Linked DNA regions of Homo sapiens: all the other regions are linked to region 3. Evidence: promoter capture Hi-C in human tissues and cell types (Jung and others, 2019). All regions are on one chromosome and are shown on one strand. The core of a region is centred on a gene start or on the middle of the fragment in contact, and the rest is flanking DNA. Distances in the headings are between cores, read along the strand shown. Region 1 holds the start of TRL-CAG2-1 (tRNA-Leu (anticodon CAG) 2-1). Region 2 overlaps ADGRG1 (adhesion G protein-coupled receptor G1). Region 3 holds the start of DOK4 (docking protein 4). Region 4 has its middle 22 kb from the start of CCL22.

Region 1 (6,611 bases), core at 687-3,186, 190 kb after region 3:
GGAGGATTTCATTGTCTTTCAGATAACCAGGACCTCTGCCCACCCCCATGGGGCTGCATCCCAAGCTCCAAGCATCTCAAGGGAATCTAATCCAAGGGTGGTAAGTGCTGCTGTTCTCTGGCCGAGGCCGCTCTGTGATACCATCTCAGACAAGTCCGAGGGCACTAAGAGGTTAATGTGACCCCACTGCTCACACCTTCTAGGCCTGACCCCTGGACTCCAAAGTTGGCTCAGAGATGTTCGAGGGTCTTGGACCCTCTCTTCTAGTGCCTGTGTACAGAGAGGGGCAGCAGCTGCCATTGTAGGAATATGAGTCATTAATGAGGGAATTCATTAATTAATGTGTAATTGTTACACACCAGGTCAGCGGCCCAGCCCCCTGAGATCCTAGAAATCCTTCTGGAGAAGGGCACCCTCTCGGTACCGAGGTCTTCTGGTCCCTGGAAACAGCCTGTGCGCGGCGTGCGTAAGCCTAGAGGGGGTGGAAGGGAAGAGAGGAAGATGCCGCGGGGGCCAGGAAAAGAGAGATGAGTCACGAAATGAGGGGATGCAGGAAGGAGGAAGCGAGGGAAGAATGAATCCATGGGATCTTCCCTGCGTACCTACTGTGTGCCGGGTACGGTTTGGGCACTGGGGACATAGGAATAGGGCGGGTCTGGCTGTGCAGCTGCAGGCCTCGTTCTATCCCGGAGCCTGAGTAAATGAATTATAACACATATACAAATGTGAAGCTGCAGCTGGGGCGAGTATTCGGAAGGAGAGCGCGGTAAGAGTGCCAGGCGGCCTTGCAATACCTGGGCTTTACCTAGATTGGGCGCCAGCCCACGGAAATGTCTGCGAATCAGTGCAGGTATACGGACTTGATTGCATTGTGCACAAGGGAAATGCAAGGTTGCTTGCAGATTTCAGGAATCAAAGCTGACATGATAGTACATGTATGAATGCAGAATGAATACAGGCTGGAGGCACGAATGCATGTGTATTGAAGTAACAGTCTTCGGTCTCGGCCTTCTCTAGTAGGCCTTGCGCACCCTCTGGCGTCGCCTAGGTGCATCGCGCTGACCTTCCTTGTCCCATCTCTCCACGCCCATTGGAGCAAGTGAGTGTATCTCGCTCCACCCAACGCCGGGCGGACAACTAGGAGTGGGTCTTCGCTGCCCACTACGCATGCGCATATTGCAGAACTTGTGAAGAGGCTTTATGCGCCACACACTGCAAGCAGTCAGGATGGCCGAGCGGTCTAAGGCGCTGCGTTCAGGTCGCAGTCTCCCCTGGAGGCGTGGGTTCGAATCCCACTTCTGACAGAGCTCAATTACTTTTCCTCATCAACACCGCAGATCAGTGAGGTTATGATGTCTTGTGTGTATGTGTTCTGTGTATATGTTCTTATAATCTTTTTTTATTCTTTTACAGATCAATGAGGTTATGATGTCTTGTGCGTATATGTTCGCATAATCTTAATTGTTTTACAAAACGAGTATTTTCTTATTAACGAGCATTTTCTTTTTTAAAAAAGAATCTCGCTCTGTCGCCTAAGCTGGAGTGTGGTGGCGACATCCTCCCGCCTCAACCTCCTCCGAAGTTGGGAGTTCAGAATCACACGACCACGTCCTGTCAGACTTTTTCTTCCCCACAGACATTCATTTAGACTTTGGATTGTGTGTAAAACGTACGGTCCTCTGTGTTTGAGGGCCTCTCTTGGTGTGCGGTCGTCGAAGATTTCTCTTCTGAAATACCGGAAAAGAGCGCTTGTCAGAAGTGGGATTCGAACCCACGCCTCCAGGGGAGACTGCGACCTGAACGCAGCGCCTTAGACCGCTCGGCCATCCTGACTTCCTAGGAGAGACTATTTTGGGGTCTGATGTAGTTCCTCTCATGCTTCAACGACGCTCGGGACTCAGAACCCAGAGGCGGTGTCCCGGGCAGTTCCGAGTCCGGCCTGCAGCTTAGGTTATCCACAACCAAACCCATCCGGTGCAGCGAGACTCACTGCTGTGGTCAAACTGGCGCTTTCAACTGAATACACAGATAATTTAAATGGAAAATCAGTTTCCCTTACCATCAACAGAAATAAACACAATGAAAACGAAATAACGTTGCTAAATTCTAGCTGCCTGCCCAGGCTCTGAGCCTCAAGTGGTGGTATTATGAACTATTACTAATACCGGTCGGATGTTTCGGGCTGTGAATGGGGCACTGGCGGAGTAGGGGGCGGGGTTTGGAGAATTATTGTTGGAAGGAGGACGCTCTATAAGGTTTTTGTCATCCGCTCCTCAGGACGGGAGGCCTTGGGTTGGGAGATCCCACTCTGCAAATGATTACCTAGGGCCTCATTCAGAAAGAGTTGGCTTTTAGACCTTTCTAATAAGCTGATCAAGGGAAAAAGTTGGAGATTGTTAAGCTTGGGGAAGAGAATTATTATCTGTCTACAAAAGCCTGATATACAAGGGGTTGGGATTGTGTCTGCCTGTCCTTTTTGCTCCAAGAACTGGGGCCCGAGGTGGGGGTGCAGTGGGTGAATAGTTACAGAGGATGGGTTTGGGAGAAGAAAGAGTTTGCTGGAAAGGAAACAGGGTGACTGTATTGGTAGTGATATCCCTGTCGCTGGAGGCATTCAAGACGAGGATCGATGGTCACTTGGTGGAAATGCTGCCAAGGAGATTCAAGAGTTTCTATTGCTGCTGTAACACATAACTACAAATTTGGTGGCTTAAAACCATCCCATTTATTTATCTTACAGTTCTGGAGGTCATAAGTCTAAAATGGGTCACAGGGTTACATTCCGTCTGGAGGCCAGAAGGGAGAATCCATTGCCTTTCCTCTTCCAGCTGCTGGAGACCACCCACATTCTTTGGCTCCTCAGTCCACACCACTCCAAACTTTGCTCTGTCTTCACATCACCTTCTCTGACTCTGACCCTCCTGCCTAACCTCTTTATAACAACCCTTGTGATTACACTGGGCCTGTCTGATAACCCAGGGTCATCACCCCATCTCCAAATCCATTATTATTATTATTGTTATTATTTTGAGAAGTAGTCTCACTCTGTTGCCCAGGCTGGAGTGCAGTGGCACGAACTCGGCTCACTGCAACCTCCGAATCCTGGGTTCAAGCAATTCTCCTGCCTCATCCTCAGCCTCCTGAGTAGCTGGGACTACAGGCACACACCACCATGCCTGGCTAATTTTTGTATTTTTAGTAGAGACGGGGTTTCGCCATGTTGACCAGACTGGTCTTGAACTCATGACCTCAAGTGATCCACCCGCCTCCCAAAGTGCTGGGATTACAGGTGTGAGCCAATGCGCCCGGCCCAAAGCCTTAATTTAACCACAGCTGCAAACTCTCTTTTAACCATTTAAAGTAACAGAGCCACAGGTTCCAGAGATTAGGATATGATGAGGAGACTCATTATTCTACCAGTGCCCTAAAGCACAATTTGATTTGGAAGATTCCATCCAGGGGTAATTTTCTATAATATCTTTGGTCTGAAACCAACTTTCCCCACCACTTCGCTGTTCAGTCTCCCCAAAACTGCTCTGAGTTCACCTCCCCCCTCATCACAAACGTGGCTGGTGGATCCCGGAGGCCCCTGCTAAACCTTGAACAGGTTGAGAAGTACTGCGTTTGAATTCCTGCCGTGTGACCTTGGGTAGATCACTTCACCTCTCTCAGCCATACAGGAAGGAAGGGAGGAGTTGGGGCAGGGGTCCCTAACCCCTATAGCGGTCTGTGACGTGTGAGGAACCGGCGGCATAGCAGGAGGTGAGCCACACACAAGCTAAGGAAGCTGCATCTGTATCTACAGCCACTCCCCATCGCTTGCATTATCGCCTGAGCTCCGCCTCCTGTCAGATCAGGGGCAGCATTAGATCCTCATAGCAGCGTGAACCCTATTGTGAACTGTGCGTGCAAGGGATTAGGCTGCACACTCTTTATGAGAATCTAATGCCTGATGATCTCCCATCACCTCCAGATAGGACCGTCCAGTTGCAGGAAAACAAACTCAGGGATCCCACTGATTCTACATTATGGTGAGTTGTATAATTATGTCATTATCTATTACAATGTTATAATAATAGAAATAAAGTGCACTATGAACATAATGTGCTTGAATCATCCCAAAACCACCCTCCTAACCCACCCCTACCTCCTCTGGAAAAATAGTCTTCCACAGAACCAGTCCCAGTCCCTGGTGCCAAAAACGCTGGGGGACTGTAACGCCATTCATCGGTTTCTTTGGGTGTAAAAGACAGAAACTCAGCTTGCCCTCGTTTTGGCAAAAAAGGGAGATTTGTTGGCTCATGAGACAGAGGGAAGGGTGGGCAGGCAGGTTGCTGGATCTCAGGGACCCCAGGAAGTGAGGGATCAGAACTTCTCCCACCTGTGCCCCTCTCTGCTTCTCTGGAGGCAGCTCTGGCCAGGGCCTTGTCTCTCTGTTCAACACCAAGAAGGCCACCCTCACACTCCAGATCTTTCCACCACCGGGAAGCCTTCCCTGCTCACCCCTACAAATCGAGTTGTCTGGCACAGACTCTCCCAGCTCCCTGGATCTCCATCCAAGCACATCTGTAATGAACACATTATCTGGGTAATCCTTTTTTTAATGGCTCTCCCTAACACCCCCCATCTGTGGCTTGGTGATTAGCCGGACCCCTGGGGCTAGGGCCTGGCACATAATAGGGCTTGGTCCATATTTACTGTGTGATGAAAGAAATAAATAACACAAACCTACTTTACAAAAATAAAAAATAAAAAAATAAAAGGGTTCATACCACGGAAAAATCTCAAGACAAAGAGTTAAGTGAAAAAAGCTAAGTAGAAACCAGAAATGGGCCGGGCGCGGTGGCTCACAACTGTAATCCCAGCACTTTGGGAGGCTGAGGCAGGTGGATCACTTGAGGTCAGGAGTTCGAGACCAGTCTGGCTAACATGGTGAAACCCCATCTCGACTAAAAATACAAAAATTAGCCAGGCATGGTGGCACGTGCCTGTAATCCCAGCTACTCGGGAGGCTGAGGCAGAAGAATTGCTTGAACCCAGGAGGCACAGGTTGCAGTGAGCAAAGATTGTGCCACTGAACTCCAGCCTGGGCAACAGAGTGAGACTTCATCTCAAAAAATAAAAAATAAATACATAAATACAATCTTACTAGGTGATCAAGGTCAACATCAACATTGATAGGTTCCATTGATAGTAGGTATCCTTGAGAGGCAATTTACCTCTGTAGTCTTCCTTCCAAAAATACATTACTCAAAGTCTAATCATGACAAAATAATATCAGACAAATCGCAATTGAGGAACATCCTACAAAACCCCTGAACAGGGCCGGGTGTGGTGGCTCACACCTGTAATCCCAGCACTTTGGGAGGCTGAGGCAGGTGGATCACCTGAGGTCGGGAGTTTGAGACCAGCCTGGCCAACATCGTGAAACCCTGTCTCTACTAAAAATACAAAAATTAGCCAGGCATGGTGGTGCGTGCCTGTAATCCCAGCTACTTGGGAGGCTGAGGCAGGAGAATGACTTGAACCCGGGAGGCAGAGGTTGCAGGGATGTGAGATCACGCCTCTGCACTCCAGCCTGGGTGACAGAGTGAGACTCTGTCTCAAAACAAAACAAAACAAAGAAAAAAAAAACCCTGACCAGTACTCCTCAAAATGTTCAAGGTCATCCAAAACAAGGAAGGTCTGAGAAACTGTCACAGCCAAGTGGAGTCTATAGACACAGGATGACTAAATGTACTGTGGTATCCCAGATGGTATCCTGGAAACAGAAAAAGCACATTGGGAGAAAACTGAAGAACTCTGAATAAGTATTTAATAACAATGTAGCAATATTGGCTCATTAGTTGTGACACAAATGTAGCCTGGGCAACATAGTGAGACCCGACTCTAAAAAAAAAAAAAATAGCCAGGCAAGGTGGCTCACACCTGGGGTCCCAGTTACTTGGGAAGCTGAGGTGAGAGGATCATTTGAGCCCACGAGCTTGAGGTTGAAGTGAGCTATGGTCATGCCACTGGACTCCAGCCTGGGTGACAGAAGGAGACCCTATCTTTAAAATAAAAAAAAAAAATAATAAAAATTTTGCTCTTCAAAATTAGCCTGGCTTTGTCACCCAGGTTGGAGTGCAGTGGCGTGATCTCGGCTCACTGCAACCTCCGCCTCCTGGGCTCAAGTGATCCTCCCACTTTGGCCTCCCAAGTAGCTCAGATTACAGGAACACCACCATGACTGGCTAATTTTTGTATTTTTTTGGTAGAAACAGGGTTTCACCATGTTGGCCACACTGATCTCAGACTCCTGGGCTCAAGCGATCAGCCCACCTGGGCCTCCCAAAGTGCTGGGATTACAGGTGTGAGCCACAGTCCAGCCGAAAACACTGTTAAAAAATAAAAGACAAGCCACAGACTGGGAGAAAATATTCACAAGATTTTTTAAAATCAGATATATCTGATAAAGCACTTGCATCCAGTTATATCTCAATTATAAGGAGACAACCCAATTTTAAAATGGGCAAAAGCTTTAAAGAGACACTTCAGCAAAGAAGATATATGAATGGCTAATAACCACATGAAAAGATGCCCAACCATCGTTAGTTATTATGGAAATAAAC
Region 2 (6,350 bases), core at 1,805-4,304, 160 kb before region 3:
TGGCTTTAACAAGCATCCCGTTGATGGACATACTGCAGGCTTGGGAACCACGGGCTTATGAACCAGGGAAAGGCACCAGCAGCCCTGGTTTAGAGATGGTCAGAGAGGGGAGGGACTGGCCCCGCATCCCTCAGCTGCTAGATGGTAGGGCCTGGACTCGGGGCCAGGGCAGCCTGCGTTCCAGCACTCTCTTCCCTGCCCTGTGACGCAGACCCATCAGGCTCCTCTGTGGCTCCCCCAGCATTTAGCGGGGCCCTGGAAGGGGCTTCCTGAAAGACATCAGGAGAAGGGCAGGCATCAGGTTGGGGGGTGGTGGGGTGGGAAGGGAGCCAAGGAGGGAGGAACGAGGGAGCCCCGGAGGCAATCTCCAGGTTCCAGCCTAGTCTTGCCCACCTGGAGGCCTTCCCCTTAAATGGGCCCTCGCTGGGAGAGGCAGAGGGGAAGACCCCCCCAGCTCAACTTCCACTGCCCTAGCTCCCCTCCCGTCCGCAGCTGCTCTCCTGTGGGCTGCTGGGGCACGACACTGAGCTGCTGAGCCTTTGGAAGCAAGGATTTGGCCCAGGGGGTCGGGCGGCAGGGTGAGGATGAACTCCTGCGAGTTACACAGGCATGTGGGTGTGTGTGCGTGTGCATGAGTGTGTGTATGTGCATGAGTGTGTGATGAGTGTGTGCGCCCATGCATGAGTGTGCATGTGTGTGTGCATGGGGGTGTGTGCCCATGCATGAGTGTGTGATCAGTGGGTGCCCGTGCATGAGTGTGTGTGTGCATGAGTTATGAAGTGATGAGTGTGTGTGCCCATGCATGAGTGTACATGTGTGTGTGCATGGGTGTGTGTGCCCTGCATGAGTGTGATCAGTGTGTGCATGTGTGTGAGGAGTGATGAGTGTGTGCCCATGCATGAGTGTGCATATGTGTGTGTGCATGGGTGTGTGCCCGTGCATACGTGTGATCAGTGTGTGCCAGTGCGTGTGATCAGTGTGTGCCCGTGCATGTGTGTGCTTGTGCATGAGTGTGTGAGGAGTGTGTGATGAGTGTGCGTGCCCATGCATGAGTGTGCATGTGTGTGCGCATGGGTGTGTGCCCTTGCATGAGTGTGTGATCAGTGTGTGTGCTTGTGCATAAGTGTCCGTGTGTGCATGTGTGTGCCTGCGCATGTGTGTGATGAGTGTGTGTGCCCATGCATGAGTGTGCATATGTGTGTGCATGGGTGTGTGTGCCCGTGCATGAGTGTGTGCATGTGCATGAATGTGTGAGGAGTGTGTGACGAGTGTGTGTGCCCATGCATTAGTGTGCATATGTCTGTGTGCACATGGCTGTGTGCCCGTGCATGAGTGTGTGATCAGTGTGTGTGCCCATGCATGAATGTCCTTGTGTGCATGAGTGTGTGCCTGAGCATGAGTGTGTGATGAGTGTGTGTGCCCGTGCATGACTGTGCATGTGTGTGCATGAGTGTGTGTGCATGAGTGCGTGTGCCCGTGCATACACAGGGATGCATGGGGCCAGGAGGAGAAAGCAAGAGAAGGCGGGGAGCTCCTCAGAGGAACAGACTTCAAAGCTGGGAAGGGGACAGGGAGGGCGGGGCACAGTGCAAAGAGCAGGGCTCTTGCAGGTGTTTCCTCCATGGTGGGTGGCGTGGCGTCTGAGAGGACCCTCCCTCCAACGGTTTCCAAACTTTTTTAATAAAAGTAAATCTTACTTGGAAATAGCATGTACCCAACAGCTCAAAGTAGACACCCCTGTCAGACCCAGGTGGCACTCAGGGCTACGCCCCACCCCCAGCCCAGTCCCCCCACCCCTCAGCCGCACCCATGGGTCCTGGGATAACAGCTTGCAAAGGCAGAAGCACTCTCCTCCCCTATTCCCACTCCCCTCCCCCATTCCCACTCCCCAAGTGAGTGACGGAAGTCCAAGCTAGGTGACCACAGAGAGCTCCCCAAGAGGGGTATTCCAGGATCACTGGCAGAAGCAGAGTGACTTCAGTTTTCAGGAATTTTCCTACAATAAAGGAGAATAAAATGAAGCAAGCTGCCTGCCTCGGAGGCTGGCAGGTGCCCAGGCCTGGCCCACTCACTGCCCAGGGTGAGCCTCACACTCTTACACCAGACCTGCTGGACACCCCCCACCCCCCATACCGCCAGCTCAGGCCTCACTGTCCCCGTGGCTTCTGGTCCAACCAAGTGCTTGAGCCACAACACCCTCTGCCTGCCCAGACACACCCTGTGGGAAGAGTGACAAAGGGGAGAAGTTGGGGCACTCCCTGCCAGCCTGAGAGGGAAGGACCCACTCATAGGAAGGGACTCCAAGTCCTCCCAGAGAGTCAGTTGTCCAAAGCCGGCTGCCCTGCTGCCTCCCATATGCGGAACTGGGCATTTGCTTAAGAGGCCTCAGAGAAGCCAACATATAGTCATCCAGCCAGGAAGAAGCCTGGCCTTGGATGCTCCCACCTCCAAGCCTTTGCACACACTGGTCCTCCTCCCTGTGATGACAACCTTGTGACACGTCTGTGAGAGTCCCAGTGTCCTGGCCTCAGGCCCCCACATCCTCCCAGTCCCCATGCCTGGCAGGACACCAGATGATGAGTGGGACTAAACAGGGGTCTTATCTGGTGCAGTGAAAAGGGCCCTGGAATCCAGGGAGATTCTAAGAGGAGAGGGAGGATCACAGCTTCCACTCACCAAGTGCTCAATTAGCCGCTGGCATCCTGCAAAGCACTTGGCAAAAAATTAATTGTTCAATCCTCACAGTAACCCTATGAGCAGAGCCCATGAATCATGCAATCCTCGCAGCAACTTGGTGAAGCAAATGCTATCAGTGTCCCCACTTTAGGAAACTGAAGCCCAAAGAGGTTAAGTAATGCCCAAGATCACACAGCAAATAAGCAGAAAAGCCGGGACTCAAACTCAGGTCCGCCTAACCTCCAAGCCCAAACTTTTAGCCATTGTGGTCTTCTGAGTTCTTTCTCTTCTCTGGGACTCAGTCTCCCCATCTTTACCATGAGGTAACTTGCCAAAGCACTTTCAGGGAGCACTAGTCCCCAGATTAGAGAAATGCTTGTGGGCCATACTTTCTGTTGTATATTAGCATATCAAAGGCTCTGATAAGTCCTGCAGGAAAGAAACCCATAAAGCTTGGTTGGGCAGTTTCCCAACCCAACGTGAAGGTAGAGCCTTTTTTGCACGGACACCTGTTATCCACATGGAAAAAAGCTCTCAGAAATCTTGACGCCACACAGAAGCCTGCCAGCACCTCCAGCCCCCTCCCCTCCCTTCCCCTTTGAGCTGTCCCAAAGGTCATTAGCTAGCATGAGATGAGCTAGAGGAGACACTTAGGCATTCCCCAGGGCCACTCATCATCATCCCTGACACTTCCAGGAAAGAGGTCCCTGGTGAGCCTGGGGTATATTCAGGCCTATCCCACCTCCCTTCGGCCGGCAGCACCAGCTCGTGGGGAAAAGGGCACTGCCAGGCCTGTCCCAGGTGTGCCATTCCATTAAAGTTGGCCGTGGCCAGCTGGGCCTGTGACTTCATCTCAAGCAGCTAAGACACTCAGGATGTTGGAAAAGAGAGAGAAAGAATATGAAGATGCAAGAGTTTTAGGAGATGAGAATCAAAGTCTCTTAGAATTTTGGAATTGAAGCCAGGGGTAGTAGTGCTTGCCTGTAGTACCAGCTACTTGGGAGGCTGAGGCAAGAGAATTGCTTGAGCCCAGGAGTTTGAGGCTGCAGTGAGCTATGATCATGCCGCAGTACTCAAGCCTGGGTGACAGAGTGAGACCTTGTCTCTAAATACAAATTAACAAAAAAAAGAAAAGAAGAATTTTGGAGGCCAGGCACGGCGACTCACGCCTGTAATCCCAGCACTTTGGGAAGCCAAGGTGGGCAGATCATTTGAGGCCAGGAATTCGAGACCAGTCTGGCCAACACAGTGAAACCCTATCTCTAAACAAACAAACAAAATTACTGGGCATAGTGGCACACACCTGTAATCCCAGCTACTCGGGAGGCTGAGGCATGAGAATCACTTGAACCCGGGAGGTGGAGGTTACGATGAGCCAAGATCACACCACTGCACTCCAGCCTGTGTGACAGAGCGAGACCCTGTCTCAAAAAAAAAAAAAAAAAAGGACTTTTAGAATTGATTGAAGAGACTTAGAACCTAAAGGAGAAACAGGGATTAGGAAGGCACTGGGGACACCAGCCTGTCTTGAAGGGACCTCAAAGAGCCAAAGAGCCAGCAGTCCGAAGACTCTGGTGCCAGGCCTGTTCAGCTTATGCTCCTGGGGTGGTCTGCAGCCACGTAGAGGTTCATGGCCAAGTCTCCACCTGGCCATCTCCAAGGAGCAGCTGAGGCCAGCCTCCTGGGCGCCAGGGCACACACCAGTCAGTACCTGCCCAGGGAATGTACATGCCTAGAGCAGGGGTGGCAGGAGTTAGGGGCATAAGGTTCAGACAAGCTCTGCAGCCAACTGGAATCTTGAGGCCAGCCTGTCCCTTCTCTGGGCCTTATTTTCTCCTCTGTCAAGTGGGCAACTCTGATGTTTGTCCCCTGACTGCCTTCTCTGCAGCCAGGGCCCTCCAGGCTCCCGCAGGCTTCAGGATGCCTACAGGTAAGAACAGAGCTTACCTCCAAGCTGGTAGCAAGGGACAAAGAGGATGCTGAACCGTCTCCCCTGACCCCTCTAGACTGTCTTCCCTCTCAAACCACAGCCGGACCTCAGTTGTCTGGCTGAGGTTCCCCTTCCCTATCTGTGTTCCCACGTTGCCCAAGGCCAGGCCCGCAAGGTCAGCCCAGTCACCTCCCTCCTTGCTTAGCAGTTCAACTACCCCAGGTCTGGCAAACTCCCATCTTTGGAGCGCAGGACACTTAGCATTCCCAGGCTGGCCACCAACCCTCCCTTTCTTTTTTCCTCCCCCTCCTCGAGGTCCTGGATCACTGGCTGAGGGGCCGAGAGCACCCTCCCCTACTAAGTAGGCTGAGAAGAACAAAGTTCTCCCCTACCAAGGCTGGGGGCCCGAGCCTGACTGTGCCTGGGCCCCGTCCAGGGAAGGGAAGTAGAAGCACTGAGTTCCATCCCCACTCCTGAGCACACAGCACAGCATCACTGACCATCAGAGGTTGCACACCCCGCAGGCGGGGTGCTCACCACCTCCAGTGACACAACTATGTTCATTAAGCTCTTCGAAAATGCAAGACAGGATTGTGAGCTTTTTACACATGTTCACGCATTTAAGCTTCCTCAAAACCCTTGAGACAAGTACCATCACACCCACTCAACAAATAAGGCCAGCGAGGCCCAGGGAGGTCAAGTTACCTGCCCGAGGTCACACAGCTAGCAAGTAATGAAGATTGGATGCGAACCCAGGGCTGGCTCCAGGACACACGCTGTCCATCTGCAAGCCTATTTCCCTCCTGAACTTACCTGACTCTTAGAAAGCACATCTCTTGAAAAGTCACAGTAAAGAAAGCTTCCAACAATGTGTTTCCATGGGTTCAGCTGGACGCCATCCTCCCAAGGGCCCAAATCAGGGAGCCCATCAGAACTCACCCAGGTGACCTTGGATCCCAGCCCCACTGGTGGCTCTTTCCTGCACTTCCAGTCCCCTCACGCCCTGGACTTGTCAGAGGCTTGTTTCTGACACCGGGGGTGCAGCCCAGGGACCCAAAAGAATCTTCAGCAAGGGCTGGGCTGCAGGGACGGGTGTGGAGCTCTCACCCCCAACTATTTCCTTGTAGTTGAGGCTGCTGTCTTAAACTGCCCAAGTCCCTTGGAGTACCATCTGACCCCCCCAGGGTCCCTAGTGCCACCACACCCCCACCCACTGGCTACACCATCAATGCTGGGGAGAAGGGGAATGCACGGGAGAGGAAAAAGATAAAGGGGAAGGGATGGGGAGGAAGGAGGCGAGCTGGAGGGGAAGGGGAGTGAAGGAGGAAGACAGGGGAGAAGCGGGGAGCAGGGAGAGGGAGCAGGAGTGAAAGGGACGGGGAGGAGGGGAGAGGAGGCGGGAGAATCGTACCTGGACTCCTTTGTGGCATCAGGCAGACTATAGATACATTAAGAACGTGCGTGGCAGATGAGGGGTTCTTGTTTGCAGGCAGTAGCCTGCGGGGCTGGTGGGTCAATGTCCCCCGACCACCTTTTTTCAAGAGGACAGAGACTTTGAAGCTGGGCCACCCCAGCCACTGCTCCCTCACTGGAGCTTCAAACAAAGGGGACAGCCAGGGAATAGAGGCTGAGAAGCCCCAGCCGCCAGCGCGGGAGAAGGGGCGCAGGTGACAGCAGCCCCTGGCAACCGTTGCCCTGGCAACCGTTGGCAGCTGCAGGGACTACGTCACACCCCGGCTCAGAC
Region 3 (5,207 bases), core at 1-2,500:
CTTGGCCATGGGCCTGGGGCTGGTTAGCTCAGGCTGATCACAGACACCACAATGACCATCAGGGAAATTTTCAGACATCCAGAGGCAGCCTCCTTTTAAGCTCCCTGGGCAAGGCTGAGGCCCAGGCGTCTCCGGGGCAGGGGCATGCATTCCATGGGTGGGTGTTGGGATCCTTGGTCCCTCACTGCTTTAGGCCTATTCCTCTGAGACACCTGGACAGTAGCTGGATGTGGAGGTATTTTCATTTCTCAGGATTTTGGCTGTTCAGGTGGCCTATTGTTTTGTTTTGTATATATGGTCTAAAGCAGTGGTTCTCACACATTCGTGTGCATCAGAATCACCTGGCCTGTTAAAACACACATTTCTGCTGGAAACCCCCAAAAATTCTGATTTCATAGGTCTGAGTAGGGCAGGGAATTTGCATTTCTAACAAGTTTCAAGGTGATGGGAAGCTTCTGGTCCAGGGACTACACTTTGAGAAGCCCTGGTGTAAAAAGGTACAGACGTGAAAACCAGAGGGGGGACAGCTCCTCCCCAGAGGAGGCACTGGGCAACTTCTCTTGTCCCTGCCTGGCACAGCTGAGGCCTGTGACTGGGGATTCCGACAGATCAGTGAGTCAACCACTGCACAGGCCCGAAGGGCAGAGGTGAGGGGGTTGGGGGCTGGGTGGGGGCAGCAATGAAGGGGAATGAAGTTTGAGCTTGAGGGCAAAGTCTCAGGGGGACCTAGAATGGGAGAACTGGATGTTTTGAGGGTGGAGAGGAGACCAGGGAAGACAGAGGTGCTGGTGCGGCTACTTGAGGAGGGGTAGCAGAGGAGGTCACTGTGGGGCTGGGAGAGCTGGGCTGTGAGGGCCCAGAGAGTCATGATGGGGTTAGGGGAGCAATGGGTGTGTATGTGATTCCTGAAGAAGTGAAGGAATTGAGATATGGGGGCTGGGAGCTGATGTGGCGTATGGGTGTGTATGTGATTCCTGAAGAAGTGAAGGGGTTGAGATGTGGGGGCTGGGAGCTGATGTGGAGTTCAGCTTTCAGGGGCTGAGAGGCCATGTGGGCTTTGGGGCCCAGGGAGGGGCGGTGGGAATGAGCTGGGGGTACCGGGGGCGACCTGAAGCGGGTGCGGGGGTGCCAGGGCGCCAGGGCAGAATCGCGCGTCCCGCGGCTCGGAGGAATACGGCGGGGGCCGGCCGCCAGGGCGGGGCAGGGGGCGGGGCGCAGCGGCGAGACCTGGCGGAGGGGGGAGCGGAGCGGAGTCCCAGCCGGAGCCCCAGCCGGAGCCCGATCCCTAGCCCTGCGGCCGCGCCTCCCTCGCCGTCCCCGCCTGGAGCCCGGCGCCGCCGCCGCCCTGCCGCCCCCGCCAGCCGCGCCGTGACGCGGGCATGAGCCTGCTCCGCGGCGCCGCTGAGCAGGCGCTCCTGGCCCGGGCCTCGGCGCCCAGGTAAATTGGGGGGCGTGAGGCAGGGAGGGGGACATAGGCCGCCCAGAGCCTGCAAGAGTCTCGGCGACTCCCACCCCTGAGGACCCTCAGTCACTTCCTGAACCTGAGGACGCTCCGTCCCATGGGACCTTCCTACTCTCGGGTGGGGAGCTTAGAGACCCGCCCCCCAAAAGCCAGTGCCTGGGCCCTGAAACTCCCTGCGCTCTCTCCACCCGCAGCTTTCCTCTCCGGGGGAGCCCAGGTCGCGAGCTGACCTCACCCGCACCCACACAAACCTCATCCGAGCAACCCAGGCCCTGCGCTCCCGGGCCTGCCCCCCCGGAAGGGGCATAACCCAGCCCCTGGCAGCTCCCAACCTTCTCTCTGCCTTCCTGCTCCTCCCCGGGGCCTCCTGTTCGCTCACCTCCTCCAAATTCCAAGAGATGATTTTCTGTACCCCAGCTGGCCCCCACTGCCGACCCCCTCCTGCCTATGGGGTTTCTCCCCACAGCCCAAACTCATGGCCAGCTGCCTCCTGTCCTTGAACCTTTCTCCATTGGCCCCCAAGGTCCTGTCCACCTTCTCCCCCAGGGCCCGCAAGGCCCTAGATCCAGTTACATGCTTTCTATTACTGAAAAGGGGCATGAGCCGAGGCTGGGCACCTGGGTGATGTGGCAGAGCAGGGGCTCTGTGCAGCCTGCCTGCCCCAAGCCATGGGGACACGTCAGTTGCTGGGGCGCTTCCGCTTGGATGGAGGGTGTGGGTTGGAGGGGTCTGATGGCCAGGGCAGCGAGGGGCCTGGCAGTATCTCTAGGAGACTCCACTTGGGCAGTGTGAGGTGGGCTTGCTTAGGGCAGGTTCTTTCCTGGACCCTTTCAGAGGGATGTGGCGCTGGTACAGGCTCTTCCTGCCCCCACCCCCAACTCTGATCCCAGGAGCTGTGCCTCCTCTCCCCAGTTGCTTGCCTTGCTGTGCTGGTACTGGTTACTCCCAGCACTTCCCTCCTGGGCAGGGCAGCAGGGCTGGGCATGACCTCACCCCACAACCCTGGCCAAGGTGGGGCCGCCCAACTAGGCCTGGCCTCGATGTCAGCAGCATGCTCTTCCCTGAGGCAGCTCTGAACCAAACTGCGGGTCTTGGGCACAGCTGGTTCTCCAGTAACAACAGCCTGCTGGCCATGCCAGTCAGCGCTGAGACCCAGGAGCTGGGAGCCCACTGTGGCTCACGCACCTCTGGAAGCTGAGCCAGGTCCAGCCAGATGGAGGCTGGTGGTGGTGGAAGAAAGGATGGGGAGGAGGACAAGTCCTGGAGAGAATTACGTGTTCAGCCCCCAAATATTGAGCATCTCCTTCCCACCGGGCACCATTCTGGGAGCTGGGATAGAGCTGTTAACTAGACAGACGAGGCCGAGCCACCAGGGAGCTGACATTCCAGATGTCTCTCTGTGGCCAGAAACAAATGGACAGATGTAAGAACAAGAAAATCCCATGGTGATGTGCGATGAAGACAGCCGCATCTGATGTTGTGAGAGAGGCTGACTAGTGGGGGTCCTTTGGTGAGGGTAGTCAGGGAAGGCCTCCTGGAGGAGGTGGATGAAGCAATGGAATGAACCATGAGCATGTGAGGGAACAATGTTGTAGGTGGGAAACAGCTAGTGCAGTGGTCCCTCGAGGGAGGGGTTTTGGCATGTTGAGGGGTGGGCAGGGGACCCAGGAGAACCAGAGTGGTACGGGGCCACAGCATTACTCTCCTGGCTTAAGGGTCTGGGGGACCATGGCTGTTCAGATGTCCCCTCCTTCTGCCGTCCCTGTCTGCCTAGATGGGTATTTGGTCTGTCTTTGCCATCCACCTTGATGGGACTCACCATGTTTTGGCCGGTGGCCCCTATGGGGATCTGTTGGGAGCACTCCCAGCCGGCCTCTGACAACAATCTTGGGGTGGGGTGGGGGCAGAGCAGCAGGTGATGGGAAATGGCTCTGGTGCTGGAGAGAATCCCACAGATCCAATCTTCGCCGTTGGATCGAGACAGCCAGACGACACTGAGATGGTGTCCAGGTAGGGCTGTTCCTGCAGCCCTGATAAGATCCGATCTGTCAGGGGTGGGGAGGCCCAGCCAGGCAGGCAGCCGCTCGCTCAGTCATTGGTTGCCAGCCTCAGCGCGTTTGTTCTGGAGCCAAAGCCTCCAGGCAGAATCCATGTGCGAGAGGGAGTGCTCAGCATGGCTGCCCTGTGGGGCAGGTGGGCAGTGAGGGCCCTGGGAGTCTCCCTACTCCCCGCCACCCCAGGACACCAGCCCTTCCTGGGGAGAGGAGCATTTTGGAGCTGGCTCTCCCTGCGCGGAAACCTGTGGTGGCCTGGCACCAGGCAGGTACTGTCCCTGGGTAAGCAGCAGTATTGGTACCAGGCTGGGAGGTGGGATGCGGGGGGCCCTTGCTCCCCTCCTCCCTCACTGGAACCCTGAGAGCGACTGCTGGACACCGTGCTTAGCTGGGAGCTCGGAGCTCACAGTGCTGGGGAAGGACCCAAGACCTCAGGTCCTCTCAAAGTAGCAAGCATTCTTCCTGCTGCAGGCCTGTTGGGGACAAGGGCCTGAGGGACAAACAGGGCAGGGGCTACTTCAACCCAATTCCTGGCCTGCCTAGCCTCAGCTGCCCTCCAATTTTTGTATTTTTTTAATTGATTTTTTTGAAATTTTTTAGAAACAGTCTCACTCTATCACCCAGGCTGGAGTGCAGTGGCTTGATCATAGCTCACTGCTACCTGGAATTCCTGAGCTCAAGTGATCCTCCCACCTCGGCCTCCCCAGTAGCTGTGACTACAGGCACGTGCCACATGCCCAGCTTATTTTTTCATTTTTTGTAGAGACGGGGTCTCTCTATGTTGCCGGATCTGGTCTTGAACTCCTGGCCCCAAGTGATCCTCCCACTTTGGCCTCCCAAAGTGTTGGGATTACAGGTGTGAGCCACTGTGCCTGGTCTGCTCTCCACTTCTTGCTGTCCTATTGGGCCTTCACAGGCTCAGCTTGGGGGCCGCCTCGCTTGCTTAACACAGTGCATTCCTTCTGGAGGATGGTGGGTTGGTTCTGGGCCCCCCCCTCACCACTTGACCCCACTGCCTGTCAAATTTGTGGGTCCACCTATTGGCCCTGACCTTTCCCTCCCCTTCCGAACCCCTCTTTGCCCACCATTTTGGGTCCTAGGTTAGGTCTTGCTCTTGCAAACATCATTAGGGACTAAGTGTGGCCAGGGGTCCCTGTGACTCAGGGCCGGAGTGAGCTGGCAGGACTTTGGCACCCAGCCTTCCCCGTGAAGGTCACTCTTCCCGCTGGGGACCTGGGGTATGGGACGGGGTGGGGCCTATGGACAGACGCAGCAGGAGCACTCCTGCGAGCTTGGGGCCACAGTCCCTGGTGGGGCAACACTGGGAAGGAGCAGGCTGGCTTCTGGTGGTTTCACCGCCCTGTCTGGGCAGCAACTCTTGAAGAAAACTATATATATATACATACACACAGCCCTTGGAGTTTTCAAGGCAGAAGCTCTGGCCAGGCGCAGTTGCTCACACCTGTAATCTCAGCACTCAGGGAGGCCGAGCCTTGTGGATCACTTGACCCCAGGAGTTCAAGACCAGCCTGGGCAACATGGTGAAAACCCATCTCTAGGGGCCGGGCGCAGTGGCTCACGCCTGTAATCCCAGAACGTTGGAAGGCCGAGGCGGGTGGATCACAAGGTCAGGAGATCGAGACCATCCTGGCTAACACGGTGAAACCCCGTCTTTACTAAAAATATGAAAC
Region 4 (7,085 bases), core at 1,430-3,929, 150 kb after region 3:
AGCCAGGCGTGTTGGTGGGTGCTTGCAGTCCCAGCTACTCGGGAGGCTGAGGCAGGAGAATTGCTTGAATCCGGGAGGCAGAGGTTGCAGTGAGCAGAGATTACGCCACTGCACTCCAGCCTGGGTGACAGAGCAAGACTCTGTCTCAAAAAAAAAAAAAAAAAAAAAAAAAAAAGAAGAAGAAGAAGAAGAAGAAGAACCCAGAAACCCCCTCATGACCTCTTCCATCACAACCCCTCTGCTGCCACCACCAAGGAAAGCCCATTCTGGCTCCTAATACCTAAACTAGTTATTTCTATTTGAATCATAGAAAAAGTGACTGGGTGCACTGGGTGCTCATGCCTCTAATCCCAGCACTTTGGGAAGCTGAGGTAGGAGGATTACCTGAGCCCAAGTTCGAGACCAGCCTAGGCAATGTAGTGAGGCCCCATCTCTCCAAAAAAAAAAAAAAAAATACAAAAATTAGCCAGGCATGGTGATGCAAGCCTGTGGCCCCTAGCTACTAGAGAGACTGAGGTGGGAGGATCACTTGAGCCTGGGAGGCCAAGGCTGCAATGAGCCGGGGGGGGTGACAGAGAGAAACACTGTCTCAAAAAAACAAACAAACAAAGAACAGAAAGAAACACTGAATCATACAGAAAGCATTCCTTTATGCCTGACTTCTTCTCTTTTTTTGAGACAGCGTCTCGCTCTGTCACCCAGACTGGAGTCCGGTGGCACGATCACGGTTCGCTTCAGCCTCAACCTCAGCTATCCTCCCACCTCAGCTCCCCTAGCAGCTAGGACTACAGGCATGAGCCACTGCACCTGGCCTGTGCCTGACTCCTTTCATTCAACATTATGTTTAGGAGATTCAGCCATGTCTTTGCTTGCCCTTTTACTTCATTCTCATTCCTCCACAGTATTCCATTGTAAGAATGTATCACATATAGATGGGACTTCCAGAATGACTGAGTGAGGAAGCTCTGAAACACCCACCCACCCACACAAAGCCCTCATTCTTTTCTCATTAAAGTTCAAGACTTTTCAAAGTAAACACTTCTCAATTTGTTACATACTGTGTTAGTTTTTTCTTTTTTCTTTTTTTGAGACAGAATCTCACTCTGTCACCCATTATTCTACCTACTACTTATAATTTTGATCAATCTCCAGTTTTCAAATGATTATTTTTTCTCACAGTTTTGCAGTTTTGTTATAAGTTTTTGTAGTTTGTTATAAGTTCTGCTAAGTTTTGTATTTTTAGTAGAAATGGGGTTTTTCCATGTTGGCCAGGCTAGTCTCAAACACCTGACCTCAGGTGATCCACCCGCCTCAGCCTCCTACAGTGCTGGAATTAGAGGCATGAGCCACCGTGCCCTGCCAAGAAAAATTATTTTTAAGAGAACCAATAGAAATTCTGGATTTGAAAAGTATAGTGTCTAAAATGAAAATTTCCCTGGAGGGGCTTAAAAGCAAATTTGAGCTGACAAAATAAAGAATTGGCAATCTTGAGGATAGATCAGCAGAGATTATACAAGCTGAATAATGGAGAGAAAAAAGACTGAAGAAAATGAACAGAGACTAAGAAGCCTTGGCCCATCATCAAATGCACCAACATCCAGGTAACAGGACTCTGAGAAAGAGGGAAAAAATAGAGAAATGGGCAGAAAAAATATTCAAAGAAAAAAATGGCTGAAAAATTCCAAAATTTGATGATAACATTAATCTACACATCCTAGAATCTGAATGAGCCAGAAGTAGGATAGACTCAAAGAGATCCACACATGAGCACGTTATAATTAAACTGTTGAAAAGAAGAAAATAAAAACTTGAAAGCAGAAAAGAAAATCCATCATATACACAGAAATGACAGTAAGATTAACACATGACTTTTGTCCAAAACAATGGAGAAATACACAACAAACTAGGAATAGAAGGAAACTACCTAAGCATAGTTATGTGCAGATTAAAACAAACCTGATAGTGAAAGACTGAAAGCTTGTTCTCTAAGACCAGGAATAAGTAAGGATGCCTGCTTTCACCACTTCTAATAACATAGTACTGGAATCCTAGCCAGAGCAATTAGGCAAGAAAGAGAAATAAAAGGCATCCATATTGACAATGAAGAAGTAAAATTATCTCTGTTTGAAGATGACATGATCCTATATGCAGCAAACCCTAAAAATTGCATCCATTAAAAAGCTATTAAAACTAACAAACAATTCAGTAAAGTTGCAGGACACAAAATGGTCACATAAAAGTCAATTGCAGCTGGGTGTGGTGGCTTATGCCTGTAATCCCAGCACTTTGGGATGCCAAGGCAGATGGATCACTTGAGCTCACAAGTTCAAGAACAGCCTGGGCAATATGGCGAAACCCTGTCCCTACAAAAAGTACCAGAATTCACTGAGTGTGGTGGTGCACGCTTGTGGTCCAAGCTACTTGGGAGGCTGAGGCAGGAGGATGGTTTGAGCCTGGAAGGCAGAGGTTGCAGTGAGTCGAGATCGCACCACTGCTCTCCAGCCTGGGTGACAGAGCCAGATCTTGTCAAAAAAAAAAAAAAGCAAACAACAATTGCATCTCTACACACTAACAATTAACAATCTGAAAATAAAATTAAGAAAATAATTCCATTTACAATAGCATCAAAAAGAATAAAATATGTAGGAATAAACCTAACCTAACCAACAAGATAAAAGGCTTATATGTTGAAAACTACAAATGTTTCTGAAAGAAACAAAGACACAAATAAATGGAAAGACATCCTATGTTCATGGATCAAAAGACTTAATATTGTTAAGATGTCAATAGTAACCAAAGCAATCTACAAATTTAATCCAATCCCTATCAAAATCCCAACATCATTTTTAAAAAAAATTCTAAAATTTATATGGAAACTCAAGAGAACCCAAATTGCCAAAATAATATTGAAAGAGAAAAACAAAGTTGGAAACATCACACTTTCTGACTTAAAAACATACTACAGGCTAGGCAGGGTGGCTCATGTTTATAACCCCAGCACTTTGAGAGGTCAAAGCAGGAGAAATGCTTGAGGCCAGGAGTTTGAGGCCAGCCTGGGCAACAAAGTGAGATCCCATCTCTACAAAAAATAATAATAATAAATAAAAATAAATAATAAAACATACTGCAAAGCAACAGTAATCAAAGCAGTGTGGTACCAGTATAAAGACAGACATATAAATGGATGGAACAAAATACAGAGCCCAGAAATAAACTCTTGTTCATATGGTCAAATGAGCTTTGACAGGAGTGAAAAGACTATACAATGGAGAAAGGACAGTTTCTTCAACAAATGATATGGGAGAACTGAATATCCACATACAAAAGAATAAAGTAAGATCCTTACTTTATACACCATATACAAAAATTAAATCAAAATGGATCAAAAACCTAAATGTAAAAAATAAACTATAAAACTTTTAGAAGAAAACATACAAGAAAGCTTCATGACATCAGACTTGGCAAGGATTTTCTGGATAATCATACCAAAAGCACAGATAACAAAAGTAAAAATAGATACATTAAACTACATCAAAATCTAAAACTTCTGTGCATCAAATGACACAATCAACAGAGTGAAAAGACAACCTATAGAATGAGAGACTATATTTGCAATTACATATCCAGGGTTAATATGCAAAATATATGAGGAACTCGGCCAGGTGCAGTGGCTCACGCCTGTAATCCCAGCACTTTGGGAAGCCAAGGCAGGTGGTTCACCTGAAGTCAGGAGTTAGAGACCAGCCTAGCCAACATGGTGAAACCCCATCTCTACTAAAAAATACAAAAAATTAGCCAGGTGCGGTGGTGTTCACCTGTAATACCAGCTACTTGGGAGGTTGAGGCAGGAGAATCGCTTAAATCTAGGAGGCAGAGGCAGCAGTGAGCTGAGATCGCACCACTGCACTCCAGCCTGGGTGACAGAGTGAGACTCCGTCTCAAAAAAAAAAAAAAACATATATATATACACATATATATATATATATGTATATATATATATATGTATATATGAGGAACTCCTGCAACACAATAAGAAAAAGACAAATAACCCAATTTTAAAATGAACAAAGGACTTGAATAGGTATTTCTCCTAAAAAGATATACAAATGGCCGGCCAGGCATGGTGGCTTACACCTGTAATCCAAGCACTTTGGGAGGCTGAGGCAGGCAGATCACAAGGTCAGGAGATCGAGACCATCCCATGAATGGTGAAACCCCATCTCTACTAAAAATACAAAAAATTAGCTGGGCATGGTGGCGGGCGCCTGTAGTTCCAGCTACTTGGGAGGCTGAGGCGGGAGAATGGCGTGAACCCAGGAGGCGGAGCTTGCAGTGAGCCGAGATCACGCCACTGCACTCCAGCCTGGGCAACACAGCAAGACTCCGTCAAAAAAAAAAAAAAAAAAGCAGATAGACAAATGGCCAAGATGAAAAAACGTTAAACATCATTATTTATTAGGAAACTGCAAATCAAGACAAATATCAACCCACACCCATTAGGATGACTAATTAAAAAAAAAAAGACAGAAAATAACAAGTGATGGCAAGGATGTGGAGGAATTGGAACTCTTGTTCACCGCTGGTGGGAATATAAAATTGTATAGCCACTATGGAAAACAGTATGGTGGTTCCTGAAAAAATTAAAAGTAGAATACTATGTGATCCAGACATTCCTTTTTGGGGTATATATCCAAAAGAATTGAAAGCAGGATCTTGAACAGATACCTGCACATTCATGTTCACTGTGGCATTTTTCATAACAGTCAAGAGGTGGAAGCAACCCAAGTGTCCATCAACAGATGAATGCATAAACCAGATGTGGCATATACACAAAGTGAATATTATTCATTAAAAAGGAAGGAAATTACGACACGTACAACATGGATGACTTTGAGAACATTACGCCAAGTAAAATAAGCCAGTCTCAAAAGGCAATACTGTATAATTCCCCTCATGTGAGGTAACTAGAGTAGTCAAATTCACAGAGACAGGAAGTACAATGGTGGTTGTCAAAGGCTGTGGGGGATGAGGGAATGGGGAGCTGTTTAATGGGCATAGAGCTCCATTTTGCAAAAAAGATGTTCTAGATACTGCTCACACATCATTGCGGGTGTAGCTGACACTAAGAGATCGAGCTGACTGGTATCTCTTCTGATGAGGATACTAATCCTATCAGATCAAGGCTCCATCCTTATGACCTATTTAACCTCAATTACTTCTTTAGAGGGCCCATCACCAAATACAGCCACACTGGGGCTTAGAGTTTCAACATATGGATTTTTGGAGACACAAACATTCAGTTCATAACAAGCAACTGGGAAGGTGGAATGTGATTGCTAGAGTTTCCATGTTACATCATTTTATTTTTTTCTTTTATTTCCGTGGGACCCTGCTTGATAACATGTTGTATCATTTTAAATTTCCAGTTTTTAATTTAAAAATTTTGGAGACATGTCAAAAAATGGGAAAGTATGACCCATACATTAGGTGAGGGAGAGTAGTCAATAGAAGCTGTCTCCTGAGGAAGCCCAAACATTGAACTGTGAGACAACAGCTTTAAGTCAACTATTATAAATATGTTCAATGAACAAAAAGAAACCATGTCTAAAGAATTAAAATATACAATGTCTCACCTATAGAGAATACCAATAAAGAGATAGAAATTGTAAAATAAGGAACAAACAGAAATTCTGGAGTTGAAAAACATAATAACTGAAATGAAAAAATTCACTGGAAGGGCTCTAAAGCAGCTTTGAGCTGGCAGAAGGAATAATTTGTGAACTTGAAGATAGGTTAATTAAGATTATTCAGTCTCGGCCAGGCGCAGTGGCTCACGCCTGTAATGCTAGCACTTTGGGAGGCCAAGGTGGGCAGATCACCTGAGGTCAGGAGTTCAAGACCAGTCTGGCCAACGTGGTGAAACCCCATTTCTACTAAAAACACAAAAAACAGCCGGGCATGTGGTGGTGCATGCCTGTAATCCCAGCTACTCAGAGGCTGAAGTGGGAGAATTGCTTGAACCCCAAAGGCAGAAGTTGCAGTGAGCCGAGACTGTGACACAGCCTTCCAGGCTGGGCAACATAGTGAGACTGTGAGACTCTATCTCAAAAAAAAGAAAAGAAAATAAAAAGAAAGAAAGATTATCCAGTCTATAAAATGGTAGAGGGCAGGGAATGAAAAATGTGAACAGAGCCTCAGAGACCTGTGTTATGCTATCAAACACACCAACGTATGTGTAGTGGGAGTCCCAGAAGGAGAAAAAACAGTAGAAAAACTATTTGAAAAAACAATGGCTGAAAGCTTTCCAAACTTAATGAGCAACATTAATCCTCACATTTAAGAATCTCTCAGTGTGAAATTGGGTTAGGAAAAAAAAAGAATCTCAATGAACTTAAAGTAAGATAAATTCAAAGAGATCATCACCTAGACACGTCATTATAAAACCCTGGAAAGACAGCTAAAGAGAGAATCTTGAGAGCAGCAAGAGAAAACCCATTCACCACAGACAAAGGATCCTCAATAAGATTAATAGCTGTCAGCTGGGCGTGTTGGCTCACACTTGTAATCTCAGCACTTTGGGAGGCCAAGGTGGGCAGATCACATGAAGTCAGGAGCTCTAGACCAGCCTGGCAACATGGCGAAGCCTCGTTTCTACTACATATACAAAAATTAGCTGGATGTGGTAGTGCACGTCTGTACTCCCAGCTACTCGGAGGGCTGAAGTGGGAGAATTGCTTGAACCCAAGAGATGGAGGTTGTAGTGAGCCAAGACTGCACCACTGCACTCCAGCCTATGCAACAGAGCTAGACTCCATCTCAAAAAGAAAAGATTAACAGGCATTTTCTCACCAGAAATTATGGATGCCAGAAGGTAGTAGAATTACCTATTCAAAGTGCTGAGGAAAAAAAAAGAAGACTTGCAACCAAGAATTTCATATTCAGCAAAACTGTCCTTCAAAAGCAAATTAGAAATAAAATATATTCCTATATTAAACACAAACAGCAAAATTGTCACTGGCAGACCTGTCTACAAGAAGTACTAAAGAGAATTCTTCAAACTAAAATGAAAGGACATTAGATAGTAA

The links. The method cuts DNA at HindIII sites, captures the fragments that hold promoters and counts their contacts. A contact is called where the count stands out against the background at its distance.
Region 1: a contact is called between a fragment that was not itself captured here and the fragment with the promoter of DOK4 in region 3, in 1 of the 25 tissues and cell types used here (lymphoblastoid cells).
Region 2: a contact is called between a fragment that was not itself captured here and the fragment with the promoter of DOK4 in region 3, in 1 of the 25 tissues and cell types used here (lymphoblastoid cells).
Region 4: a fragment that was not itself captured here is called in contact with the fragment with the promoter of DOK4 in region 3 in 2 of the 25 tissues and cell types used here (lymphoblastoid cells and mesenchymal stem cells).

Annotation. Positions count from the first base shown.
Region 1 is chr16:57,295,173-57,301,783 of GRCh38, reverse strand. It overlaps TRL-CAG2-1 (tRNA-Leu (anticodon CAG) 2-1), which reads right to left and starts at 1,833; the gene lies at 1,751-1,833. It overlaps TRL-CAG2-2 (tRNA-Leu (anticodon CAG) 2-2), which reads left to right and starts at 1,222; the gene lies at 1,222-1,304. RefSeq lists silencers at 1,190-1,359, 1,650-1,859 and enhancers at 1,510-1,569, 1,980-2,109. The HindIII fragment of the contact is 5,049 bases long and covers 1-4,460 here.
Region 2 is chr16:57,639,338-57,645,687 of GRCh38, reverse strand. All of the region lies in intron 1 of ADGRG1 (adhesion G protein-coupled receptor G1), which reads right to left. Among named protein-coding and RNA genes, the nearest start is that of ADGRG1, 14 kb to the right of the region's middle. The HindIII fragment of the contact is 4,588 bases long and covers 761-5,348 here.
Region 3 is chr16:57,482,536-57,487,742 of GRCh38, reverse strand. DOK4 (docking protein 4) reads left to right here and starts at 1,250. Exons shown (of 9, transcript NM_018110.5): 1 at 1,250-1,438. RefSeq lists a silencer at 1,070-1,369 and an enhancer at 1,201-1,997. The HindIII fragment of the contact is 12,171 bases long and covers 1-5,207 here.
Region 4 is chr16:57,333,410-57,340,494 of GRCh38, reverse strand. No RefSeq gene overlaps it. Among named protein-coding and RNA genes, the nearest start is that of CCL22, 22 kb to the left of the region's middle. The HindIII fragment of the contact is 4,385 bases long and covers 487-4,871 here.